Linked DNA regions of Homo sapiens: region 1 is linked to region 2. Evidence: promoter capture Hi-C in 16 types of primary human blood cells and fetal thymus (Javierre and others, 2016). All regions are on one chromosome and are shown on one strand. The core of a region is centred on a gene start or on the middle of the fragment in contact, and the rest is flanking DNA. Distances in the headings are between cores, read along the strand shown. Region 1 holds the start of SH2D4B (SH2 domain containing 4B). Region 2 holds the start of CCSER2 (coiled-coil serine rich protein 2).

Evidence for each region. Contacts are between HindIII fragments. The CHiCAGO score rates a contact against its expected background, and 5 or more counts as called.
Region 1: the fragment with the promoter of SH2D4B here is called in contact with the fragment with the promoter of CCSER2 in region 2 in 3 of 17 cell types (total B cells, M0 macrophages and activated CD4 T cells); the score reaches 7.3 in total B cells.

Annotation. Positions count from the first base shown.
Region 1 is chr10:80,536,470-80,542,965 of GRCh38, forward strand. It overlaps SH2D4B (SH2 domain containing 4B), which reads left to right and starts at 1,433. Exons shown (of 8, transcript NM_001388272.1): 1 at 1,433-2,046. The coding sequence starts at 1,863. RefSeq lists enhancers at 3,137-3,276, 4,314-4,493, 4,644-4,703, 4,874-4,993. The HindIII fragment of the contact is 17,935 bases long and covers 1-5,371 here.
Region 2 is chr10:84,324,946-84,330,547 of GRCh38, forward strand. CCSER2 (coiled-coil serine rich protein 2) reads left to right here and starts at 3,644. Exons shown (of 10, transcript NM_001284240.2): 1 at 3,644-3,863. RefSeq lists a silencer at 3,408-4,137 and enhancers at 4,188-4,537, 5,585-5,602. The HindIII fragment of the contact is 12,289 bases long and covers 1-4,449 here.

The DNA.
Region 1 (6,496 bases), core at 183-2,682, 3.8 Mb before region 2:
AGACCCTGGGGGCCTTCCTCCCCTTGTCTCCTCTTTGGACTCGGGGGTCTCCCACCAGCCACGGCGAGGGGGAGAAAGAGAATAGCTGGGCAGAGGCTAGGGAAGACCCCCGGTCTCAGAAACTGAGGGGAGCCAGGACTCCCGGTGGGGGAGTCGGTGCAAGCCCTGAGGTGGGTGGATGGGAGTCCAGGGCCACAGCTCTGCAGCGGACAGGCGAGTCCTGTGGCGGCTCTAGGAAGGTCTGGGCACACTGGGACCAGCTAGCTGGACCTGGGTGGGGAGGGGTGGGGCGTCTGACTCCACTCCTGTGACCTGGACATTGCCTAGCTGAGCAGGAGCTTTGACCCTATGGGCTTACAGCTCATCTGAATCTGCTTAGTCCATCTTCCTGTTGTGTTAACCTTGCAGAGGGGGAAGAATGCCAACTCTCCACCCCTCTTCCATCACTCTTGGGTACCTGATCCACCTTCCACCCTCATGGGCAAGGAAGGGGACAGGAAGGTCACCAATCCAACCAAGCCACAGTGCCAAATCCTGTTGGTTCGTTTGTTTTCCCTTGGTTGGGTTATGTTTTCAAACCATCAACAGATTCATAGTTGCTAGTGGATGTCAAATTTCAAAACGGGGGAGTCCCAATACAGTGACTTGTCCATTAGGAAGCCATAGGCAAGCCACTTACTTTCTCTGAGCTTCAATATCCTTGTCCCAATAAGAAGGCATCTGTGATTTGCTCTGAGCACATATTTAGGGTGAGCTTTCACCCTAAAGATCTCAGCAACGGCAGCTTCTACCCACCTTCACACACCAAAGAGAGGGTGGCTTCCCTCCCAGCAGAAGGCAACATCCCGCCATTCCAGTGTGCTTCTGATCAGGGCACAGAGAAGAGCCAGTTTCATCTTCTTTCTTTTTGGTCAACTCCAGGCATCTGCAACAAACAAGATTAACAACGACCATTAAAACTGGCCCCTGGAGGGTTTATCTGTCAGCCACGCATGGCTGCAGGATCTCATTATATATAGGCCAAAGGGAAAGGATGTCTGCTTCCTTTCTGTCCTGGAATTCCAAGATAAAATCCCCTCCAGTTGTCTCTACTGATTCCATTTTGTTTTCTTTCTTGGCTGTAACACAGATAGGAGGAAAAATCTTTCCTCCCCCAAGGCAGAGTTTTAAACGCATCATCTCAGAATGCCAAATGTTCTGGAAAGGAAGAAAGTTGGCAGCGAAGGAACCCGCAGAGAGAGGGGCTGAGAGGGCTGAGGGGCCCAGCAGCTTCTGGCAGGCTCCTCTGGTCTGTGTTTGAAATTGGCTGAAAAGACATGGAATTTAGTAGGCAAGTCTGCCTCCTTCTCCTCCTCTTATCTGCAGAGGAGAGATCAGTTCCCAGCTGGCCGGGGCAGTGTCATTGATATAGCTGGTGTCATTGTTACCTTCCACTAACAGATCACTCGACACCTACCAGCCCAGGCAGGGCTGGGACTGGGCATTTCCTGGCTGAGCTGGAGGCTTGGGCCCTTCCCATTGTCTCAGAACCCCAGGTGATGCCAAGACATGGGCTCTCCTGGGATGCCGTGCTTGGTGACCCAGGAGAAGGACTAGATTGCTCCTGGTGGTTGCTCCCCCTTGCAGAGTCCCACCTGCCCCTTTGGGTCCTGTTGCCTGGCCTCTTTTGCTGTCCTGGGTAGAGGAGATGAGTTCGTCGCTGGCTGCAAGCTGAGGCCAACTGACAATGCTGCACAGAGAAGGGGCACCGAGAGTGGCCCCGGATTGAGCAGTCCGTAGTGCAGAGCAGCCCCTCGGGCGTTCTGCCTGGCCCTGCTTCCCCTGCTGGCTGCCCTTCTGGTGCGTGCATCCCAGGTGGCATCATGCTGCAGCAGATCCTGCACGACATGTACATCGACCCCGAGCTCCTTGCCGAGCTCAGCGATGTGCAGAAGCACATCCTCTTCTACAAAATGCGGGAGGAGCAGCTGAGGCGCTGGAAGGAGCGGGAGACTTGGGAGGCCCTGGCCCAGGACGAGGGTCTCAGGCCTCCAAAGACCAAGCGAGGTACGTGGCTGGGAGTCACAGAGAGGTAGGCCACCAGTCCCCCAGGAGGTAGAAAAATTAGCAGGGCCAGGCTGTGCCCTTCTTCAAGATGGGCACTGGGGTGATGAGGGCTGGGGGCTTGAAACCCTTGTCTTGTGGGCATCAGGTCCCATGAGCCTGTGCTTTTGCCTTTTGGCCAGGACCTTAGGGCTTCGAGGCTGCTGCAGAGGCTGTCCAGCGGCCCTTATTGGAGTCGGGGAGTTGGGACTTGCTTTGTCTTGTTGTGGAAGGCCCGAGTTCTGGGAAGACACCATTGAGACTTCAGATTGTGCTCCGACGTGGTTGGCAATGGTAGGGTGAACGACGGCATATTTGTGACCCTTGCCATTGGTTCTGGGCCAGAGTGTGGTGTAGATATGCAGTTCCTTTCTCCTTGGCATGCGTGGCACACCAGTTCTTGGCTAGGGCCCCTTCTGTGGACTGTGCCTCTCCCTCCAGATCCTCCGGCAGGAGGATGCTGTGGGTTGTCTCTGGAGCCCCACTGGGCATCCGGAGAGAGGGCATCAGGGAACGTCCCACACAATGAATGACCATCCCCAAATGGTCGTAGCAACTGCAGATGAGAAGCAAGGGCCTAGCCTACATTTCAGGTGTTTTGTATGCAAAGTCATGTGCCAGTCAATCCTATGGACTGGTACACCTGTGGGTGAAGGAAATCATCCAGGACCCCTGGGCCAGAAACTGGCAGGCTGCTGAGGCTTGGCTTGGCACAGGACTCAATCCTGCCAGGGATTGTAGTTTCTGTGGATGCTGCATGCACTTTACAGTTTGCAAGGCTTATGTGCCTTCACCCTTTGAAGTTTTCAATCCAGAACAAAGTCCTGTTTCAGGGCTGAGCACACAGCTCCCTTGGTGATCTGGCTCTTCTCCATGCCAGGCTCACTGCTGGCCAGTCCCCACCAGGTGCCACAGGCCACACCCACATCATCTGGACATGCTTGCTCTTGTCTCTGGTCTTCACATGAGTGGCTCTCACCGTTGGGAATGTCCTTCTGCCTTCATCCACCTGACAGACTCCATCAGGAGTGGCCCCCCTGCCCTGGAGTGTTCAGGGATGCTCTTGCATAGGGCAGTACTTGCTCCTCTGTGGCTGCCTGGCATGTAGGACCCACGCCTGCCCTGGCATTTGCCACCCTGTCATTGTCATTCCTCATCTGCTTGCCTGGCTCTCCGATGGGCTCAAAGGCACTGGTGTGTGAGGGCTTCCTCCACTCTATCTTCCTCCCCTGGGCCCAGCACAGAGGTGGCACATGGTGTTAAATCCTTGTTTTGAACAAGACACAGCAGGACCCTGCCGGGGAGGTTGGGGCAGAGCTGTGACTTGGCTGCAGGTGGCTGCTGCCAAAGCTGGGGCCTTCCGGGCTGGGCTGCGCTGGCAGCTGCATCACTAACTGGTGAAATGACAAGCCACCTTGCCAGCACCACCCGGCCTGAGCCCTGGGGACTCATGATGCCTGCATGATGACTCTTCTTGGAGGGAGACAGATGCCTAAAAATTTAACTGCAAAAATATTTATACAGAGATTTGTCACACATAGACATCTACATTTTCATGTATAAATTATACATTAAACTCATTTGAGTTTCTGGTGCAGAAGATCCTTTTTCTGGTAATTAATTTTCTGATTTATAAAGAATGGAAAAGCAGGAAAGCACGCCGAGGAATGTGTGTATCCCAGGTCAGGATCCCGCTTGGATCCTGGCTCTTTGCTTCGGTCCTGCCTTTTGGAACTGTCTGGGCATGCCACTGGGGAGCCTGGGGGCTGGCCCTGCCCAGGAGCCGGAAGAGCTTTCGGCCGGAGGGTCCAGGATATACAGTATCTGCTTCATGTCCTGGGGTCGTGATGAAGGGTGGCAACAACTTGTGAGCTTTACGTTGACTGGGTGCCTACCCAGCCCTTGCTGCTCCCGTGTCCCTGCGGGGTGGCAGGGCAAGCTCCCTGATTTCATTGCAGATAAGGAAGGTGAGGCTCAGAGAAGTGATGCGCTACATCCAAGGTCATCCAGCTGCTACATCTCATGACTTGGATCTGGGGTCTGGTGACTGATTTTTTTTCTGTTCATTCACTTCCAAACTCGGAACTCCAATTAAACAAGTGAGCTGTGCACACATTCACTTGTTCACTCATTCACCAATTCATTCACTTATCCAGCATTACTATGTGCTGATTTCAGTGAATGGGGCAGTGCTTGTCCTGGAGACGGTGGGTAGATGGATCATAGGGAACACAGCCAACTCGAGTGCCAAGGGTGAGGCTTGGTTCAAAGCAGCCGTGCCGTGTCCCAGGGCGGGAATTGTGCGGGGACGGGCTCCACGGAGGAATCTTCTCTTCCTTCCCTTGATGTTGCCAGAGGACTCAGGAGGCTCTCCAGATGCTGGTGAGACCCCAGCCCCAGTTGATGTCCAGGCTCTTGAAACTGTCTTGAGAAAGAACTCGGGAATGAGTCAGAATGATAGGAAAGGCAAGAAACTGTTAGTGAGAAGCGAAAGTACACACTTGAGAGAGAAGTGCGGGCGTGCTCATGAGAACGTGTCACACCCAGCAGAGTCTGGGTTTCTAATTTTATGGGTGTTTCTTTAATTAGGGGATGGAACAATTATTAGGTGTTCTGGAAGAGGAGGAGATTTCAGGGAACCCCCTGGGTTACTGTCTCCTTTCTCCCTTCTTTGGGTTTGCCCAGAAGAGCCATGGACAAGTCACCCTGAGTGGGATTTCAGCTGTTTTTACTCTCTTCCTTTGGGTTTTCTGTTATCTTGTTGTTTCTTTGTCTTGTTCTTGTTTTAGCTGTTGTTTGGGTTTTTCCATGCTCCTGTGACCACCCAGTGCTATTCTTGTCTCATTGACAGGCATCCTCTTTCCTGGTCCCCTCCCTACACATTTTTTTTCTGAAGGAAGCACCTGCTGTAGCCCTGCTGAGCTGTTTGCTGGCCCCTTGGGATCCCTGAGCATGACGTGGGTTAGTCCTGGTCAGCCTAGAGTGACACTGGGCCTCCTCCGGGCCATCGTCCCCAGTGCTCTAAAGCCTTCCCTCTCCCCTCTTTTCTGGGAACATTCCTCGCTCCTGGCAAGCCTGGCTTTGCCATCCCTTGGGCTCAAGTAACACTCCCCATGTCCCTACAGACAGGCAGGCAGGACAAGGTGTGCCTTGTGCCTGAGAACCTCACAGCCCCGGAGTTGTGCCTGGTGAGGGTGCGAGTAAACACTGGTGATGTGAATCATTCTCGTTTACAGAACCTAGGAGGTTTTCTTGATTCTGAGATCCACATTTGGAACCCACAGAAGTAAGCTTGGGTGAAAGCTTAGAGGCGGACTGTGAAAGGTAGGAAGGAGAGGAGATGAGGGCACGGCTGGACACATCACTCCTCTGAGCACATGGCATTTCTTTTCTGTTTTCACTTTACGCTTTGGCAAGAACCCTCTGATGTTCTATGCTGTGGTGGATGGTGTGGACCCCTCAGCTTGGTAGGTTTTTTAAATCTAACATCATGCTTATTGTGCTATCACGTTTCTGACAAAGTTCGTTGTCCAGTATATTGAGTATATTGAGACTCAGAGAAGGCATGTTATCACATTATGTCCCAGCAAGACTTCAGTCAAACCCCTCTAGCATGGCCACGACCTGTGCAAGCTCGTTCTCTCCTCATTCTCCTTGGCCACCACAGGAATGCACATCCTGTGTTAGGAATTATGAACTTCACAACCCTGTGGACTCCTCTCTGCTTACTCAGTCATCCCAGGTTCTCAGGGCCAGAGCTGGGTGTGACCAGGGGACACAGGACTGAGGACACATGTCCACACTACTGACCCAGGAAGCTTCCCTGTTTGGACCTGTCAGTTCTATCTTTTTTTTTTTTTTTTTCAGACAGAATCTCACTCTATTGCTCAGGCTGAAGTGCAGTGGTGTGATCTCGGCTCACTGCTACTTCTGCCTCCCGGGTTCAAGCGATTCTCCTGTCTCAGCCTCCCAAGTAGCTGGGATTACAGGCGCCCACCACCACAACCAGCTAATTTTTGTATTTAATAGAGACATGGTTTCATCATGTTGGCCAGGCTGGTCTTGAACTCTTGACCTCAGGTAATCCGCCCTCCTCGGCCTCCCAAAATGCTGGGATTACAGGCACGAGCCACTGTGCCTGGCCCTGTCAGTTTTATCTTGATTGACAGTTTCTGCTACTGTTAAATTGGTTCCTCTGTGACCGCCTCTCATCCTTCTGGATGCTTTTGCCTGGGAGCCAGACGTCTTTCCCTCCCGCTCTTCCCACTCTCCTGTTTGTGAATCAAGCCTGCACACTCAGGAAGCTGCTTCTTTCCTTTAGGTTTCCTACCAGGCAGCCAGCCTTCCTATGCCTGCTCACTGTCCTGCCCTCATTCCAGCCAGCAGAGTGCTCTGAGCCCAGTGGGGTTCCAGC
Region 2 (5,602 bases), core at 2,394-4,893:
CATAATAAACAACCTTTCATATATACATCTATCCTATTAGTTCGGTCCCTCTAGAGAACCCTGACTAACACATTATTTTTCATCTTTCTGGGCCTCGCCAATCAATTTAGGGAATGAAAAGAAGGAATTCATTCTACTTTGTTCCCGTTTGTCATCTTCACAGCTGAGAAGCAGGCTTTCTACATCTTCACCAGGAGGCCAGTTTGTGGATACTCTGTCTTTTACTGGTAAAGATGCTCCTTGTTGCTGGATTCTAGATCCAGAAGGCATCAAGGCATGCAAAGTCTTCGAAATTAGGGCCAACAAGGAAAACTTTCTGTGATTGTGGGAGCCGAGAGTTCCCATCATCAGACTGCCTTCTGTGAAGAACTGGTGATTTCTTCTAGAAAATCAATCCCATTGACTCCTGTCCTTGTTCATGACTTAATCCAGAACAGTGCCTGTGGATGCTCAGTAAATATTTGTGAGATGAAAGGGGGAGATTTCTCTTTTAATCTTATTTATTTACAGATGGGATCTCACTGCTGCCCAGGCTGGAGTGCAGTGGTGCAATCATAGCTCACTGCAGCCTCAAACTCCTGAGTTCAAGCAATTCTTCCACCTCAGCCTCCTGAGTAGCTAGAACTACAAGTGTGCACCACTACATCCAGCTAACTTTTATTATTTTTTATTTTTGTAGAGATGGGGGGTTCTCACCATGTTGCCCAGGCTGGTCACACTCCTGGCCTCAAGTTATCCTCCTGCCTTGGCCACCCAAAGCTCTTGCTTGAGCCACCATGCCTAGCCAGGAGATTTCATCAGAGATTCTTGTCTGTTGTATTTTTTTTTTTCTTAGAGACAGGGTCTTGCTATGTTGCCCAGGTGGGGCTTGAACTCCTGGCCTCAGGCAATCCTCCAGCCTCAACCTCACAAGTAGCTGGAATTACAGGTGTGTGGGACTGCACCCAACTTGTCTGTTTTTGGATGGTCTCCAGAATCATCTCCTACTGGGGCTCTGGATCAACTGTTTCATTGTGCTGTTTGTCATGGAATCCTAAAACTTCCCCTGAAAGAATGTCTCTCTCTTACATCAAGAGGATGCCAAAAAAGGAGAATTTAGGTTGCAGATGGAATTAAGGCTGTTAATCAACTGGCCTTAAAATAAGGTTCTTATTCTAGAGCATCCAGTTGGACCCAACATAATCATGTGTCCTTAAAAGTGGAAGACTGAGACAGAAGAGGAGGTCAGAGTGATGCAATGTGGGAAGGACTCAAACTACTCTTGCAGGTTTTGAAGATGGAGGAAGGGCAGGCCGGGCACGGTAGCTCACACCTGTAATCCCAGCAGAGGCCGAAGCGGGCGGATCACTTGAGGTCAAGAGTTTGAGGCCAGCCTGGCCAACATGGTGAAATCCTGTCTCTATTAAAAATACAAAAATTAGCTCGGCGTGGTGGCACATGCCTGTAATCCCAGCTATTTGGAAGGCTGAGGCAGGAGAATCGCAGAACCTGGGAGGTGGAGGCTGCAGTGAGCCCAGATCTCACCACTGCACTCCAGTGTGGGTGACAGAGCAAGATTCCATCTCAAAAAAAAAAGAAAAGACCCAGGAAAATTAACTGAAAGCAAATAAAACGTATCAAGGATGCTTATAAAATTAGGAAAATACACTAAAATGCTATTGTGATTCTGCTAAGTATGTACATGTATTAGCATTATGGGAAAGTTTTTTCCTAGCCTTCTTTTTTTTTTTTTTTTTTTTTGGAGACAGGGTCTTGCTCTGTCACTCAGGCTGGAGTGCAGTGACATGATCACAGCTCACTGTAGTCTCAACCTCCTGGGCTTAAGTAATCTTACTGCCTCAGCCTTCTGAATAGCTGGAACTACAGGCATATGCCACTAAGCCTGGTTAATTTCTTTTTTTTTTAATAGACTAGGTCTCTATGTTGCCCAGGCTGATCTTGAACTCCTAGGCTCAAGTGATCCTCCCGCCTCAGCCTCTCAAAGTGTTGAGGTTACAGTCGTGAGCCACCACAACTGGCCTGGGCATTTTATTTTATTTTATTTTATTTTTGAGATGGAGTCTCACTCTGCCGCCCAGGCTGGAGTGCAGTGGCATGATCTCATCTCACCGCAACCTCCACCTCCCAGGTTCAAGCAATTCTCCTGCGTCAGCCTCCTAAGTAGCTGGGATTACAGGAATGCGCCACCACGCCCGGCTAATTTGTTGGTATTTTTAGTAGAGACGGGATTTCACCATATTGGCCAGCCTGGTCTTGAACTCCTGACCTTGTGATCCTCCCACCTTGGCCTCCCAAAGTGCTGGGGTTACAGGCTTGAGCCATCGCCTCCGGCCTGGTGTTTGCTTTTCTAATCTCACTTAATCCAAAGAGAGATTGCACAGCATTTAGACCTAGTCTTTGTCAATATTTTAAGCACACATTATTGTCCAATACATTAAATATCTTAGGGATTGATATTTAAAAGACATTATTTTCTAAATATGAAAGTGTATTATTAAATGAAGTGTGGTTATACAAATCAGGCATTCCGTCTGCTTTTTCCATTTGAGTATCATTGATCTGGAGACAGGAAAGAACTGGATATTTTTCAAGCAGTTCTCCTGAAATGTTATTACAACCGAGCTGTTGGGGCCGACGAGGATTTCAGAGAACTGCAAGTCTACAACCAGGTAAGGGCAACTCCAGAGCTTTAAACAGCCGGCCAGGCCCGGAAGCCTTCCAGGCTGAGGACTCTCAGCAGCAGGACTGGCCGCGTCGAGGAAAAACAAGAGGGGAAGAGATGGCCTCTGGGGGATGGAAGCCCCAAAGGGAAGAAAGACCTGGTTTCTGGCAAAGAAACCACATTGGCCAGGAGCTGTGGCTCACGCCTGTAATCCCAACACTTTGGGAGGCCAAGGTGGGAGGATTGCTTGAGCCCAGGAGTTTGAGACTAGCCTGTAAGACCACTTCCCCCAACTCTAAAAAGAAAAAATAAAAATTAGCCGGGTATTTGGGTCAACTTGTGATAGTTTACTTTGACTAGTGTGGTCTTAGTTGTAATTATTTCGGAGGCTTGGTGATACACGCCTGAGGCGAGAGGATCGCTTAAGCCCAGGAGGCTGCAAGTGAGCTGTGATAGCGCCACCGAACTCCAACCTGGGTGACAGGGCGAGACTCTGTTTCAAAAAAAAAAAAAAAAAGGGAAAACCAGATCAGCACTTGGGGTGCCCCTTCCCCTCAGCTTTAGCAAGATCCTGTGTTTTGATGCGGTAGGCAGGTGCGTGGTTCAGTCATGCCCAATGCTCAGACCACTCCTCACTTTTCACATCCAGGAGGAGGAGCTGTCAGGTTTGACCGCACTCAAGCAGCAAATGTAGTCCAGGGGACGGCTAGAGGTGAGGTCAGCCGCAAGACTGGCGTCACTGCGTGGGCCCAGCAAAAACCTGAGTCAGGAGGCGGCCAGGCAAGGTCAGTGGAGGGGGCGGGGCCCGAAGCGGAGGCGGAGCTTGGGAAAGCCTGGCGTGAGGGCGGGGCGGGGCCAGAGGTGGGCTGAGGCCGGATCAGGCGGTGGGGGCGGTCCCCGTAGCCCCGTGAGGCTCGCGCCTGCGCACGGGCCCGCGGCGGGGCGGGACTGCGCGTGCGCGGTGCGCCGGCCCTGGAGGGCGGAGTCCGGGCGGGCGCCGGCCGAGGGAGGGGGCGCGGCGGCTTTGGAGTCCGGCGCTCCCTCAGGCCGCGGACGCGATGCTGGTTGCTGCGGCTCGGGCGGCGGGGCTGGCGGGGATGTGACGGGCGGCCCTTCGTCTCACCTTCCGTCCTCGGGCCCGCAGGTCGCAGGGCGGCCTGCAGCTGGGCCGCGGCCGAGGAGGCAGCGCGACCTCCGCACGGTGAGATCCGGGCTCAGGGCCAGAGCCGGGGCCGGGGTCGCGGCGGGCGCCGGGGGCAGCCCAAGACCAGGCACGCAGTCCGGGGCGGGGCGGAGGCCCGAACTCCCGGGCTGAGGCGGTGTCGCCCTCCCGTACCCGGCCTCCAGGGTGAGCCTCTCTAGCCCCTCGCGAGCCGCCGGACGCGGGGCGGGCGCGGACCCGGGAGGCCGGAGGGCGCCCTCCCTGCGGCTGTGACAGCGCGGGGCCTCGGGCCGCGGGCGCCGCCGCCTTTCAGGAGAAATCAGGGCGAGGCTGAGGCACTCTGATTTCGGAGCCTGGTTGCGTGTGAGGGTGGATAGGGAAAGTACCGGGGCTCCCCGAATGAGTTCGATTTTTTTTTTCTTTCAATTACTGGGCTAAATGAAAGACACACCCTAAAACACATCCTGAGGTGAAACTTTGGTGGGGCACACCGTTGCCGTAGGTTCAGATCTTCTCTCTTGTCTTTAGACATGTATTTTCATACATTTTTAAATAATGCACCTACTTTCTTGATAAAGTAAAAGGAGGAATGAAGGGACTCCTTTGTGGTGGTCCTTGGTGGCGAAGCTTGTTTCCATTTCAGTAATTGCATATTCATCTGTGTGGGCTCCCCGACCAATGAGGCTGGCTGCTCCCAGACAAGGCCTTAGCGGAGTGGAAATGACTGACGCAGGGACTCTGGTCTCAGATTAGAGTGTTGGTAGCTCACTCCTGTAAGAGAGAAATTGAGCTTTAAGCTTTTTAAAATAGCCATATGAAAAGCATTCCTTTTCTCCTGAGCATTAAAATATGACGGAACCTATTCATTTGGCCAGTTGTTTTTTTTAAAGCATCATCTTTTAGACTAGAGACTTTAGAGATGGCAGCTGCTCTTTAACCAAAAGGAACTTAAGATGCTCTCCTGCAAAAGATGGGTTCAAAACATGTCTTATCCGTCATCCATATGTGATAAAAATGTAAATATTCCTGAGTGTTTGCCTGAAATCAGTCTTCTTCCTCTTGGACTTTATTACTGTTTCTCTTAATTTATGAAAGCTTGTTACTGTTATTTTTTGTTTTCGTTTGTGTTCTAAACAACATTGGCTTCAAATAATCTTCAGGTTAAAAATGCACACTTTGTTGAACCCTTTAGCCATAATTCATACTGTCGTACTTCAGCATAAGCCATAGTTAAGAAAGCACTAGAAGCCATCCTGAAAGCAAGCCGAAAGTCTCTATTAAGAATTCTGTAAAAATTCTACCTTTCCACATTCAGACCTGCATTTTTTGTTGCTTTGACTCAACTCCTTTGACTATTTTGGAGGAAGGGACTTTGAATCCATATTTACAAGTCCTTCAGTGACTCTCCATAGTCTATATCGATAAAATTCAAAGTCCTTCATGATTAGCGGTATTTGTCTCCATTCTAGTGTCATCTTCTACCATTATGCCTGCCCTCTCTATATAAGACTGTTGCAGTTCTCTGAAGATGACATCTTCCTCTGTGGTTTTTCAGTGTTCTTTGTTGAGAATTCTCTACCTAGTAAACAACTTGCCCTTGAAGACCTTACGAAAGTAGCACTTCTGAGGCTTGTCTAGACATTTCATCCCTCTTGTCTTAACTGATTCGTACACTCTCCAGTTAGTATTTGTCAACTGGTAGTTAATGATTTGTTTATGTGTCTGTCTCCACCAGGTTTTGGGGTTTCTTTTGTGTTTTTTGAGACAGAGTCTTGCAC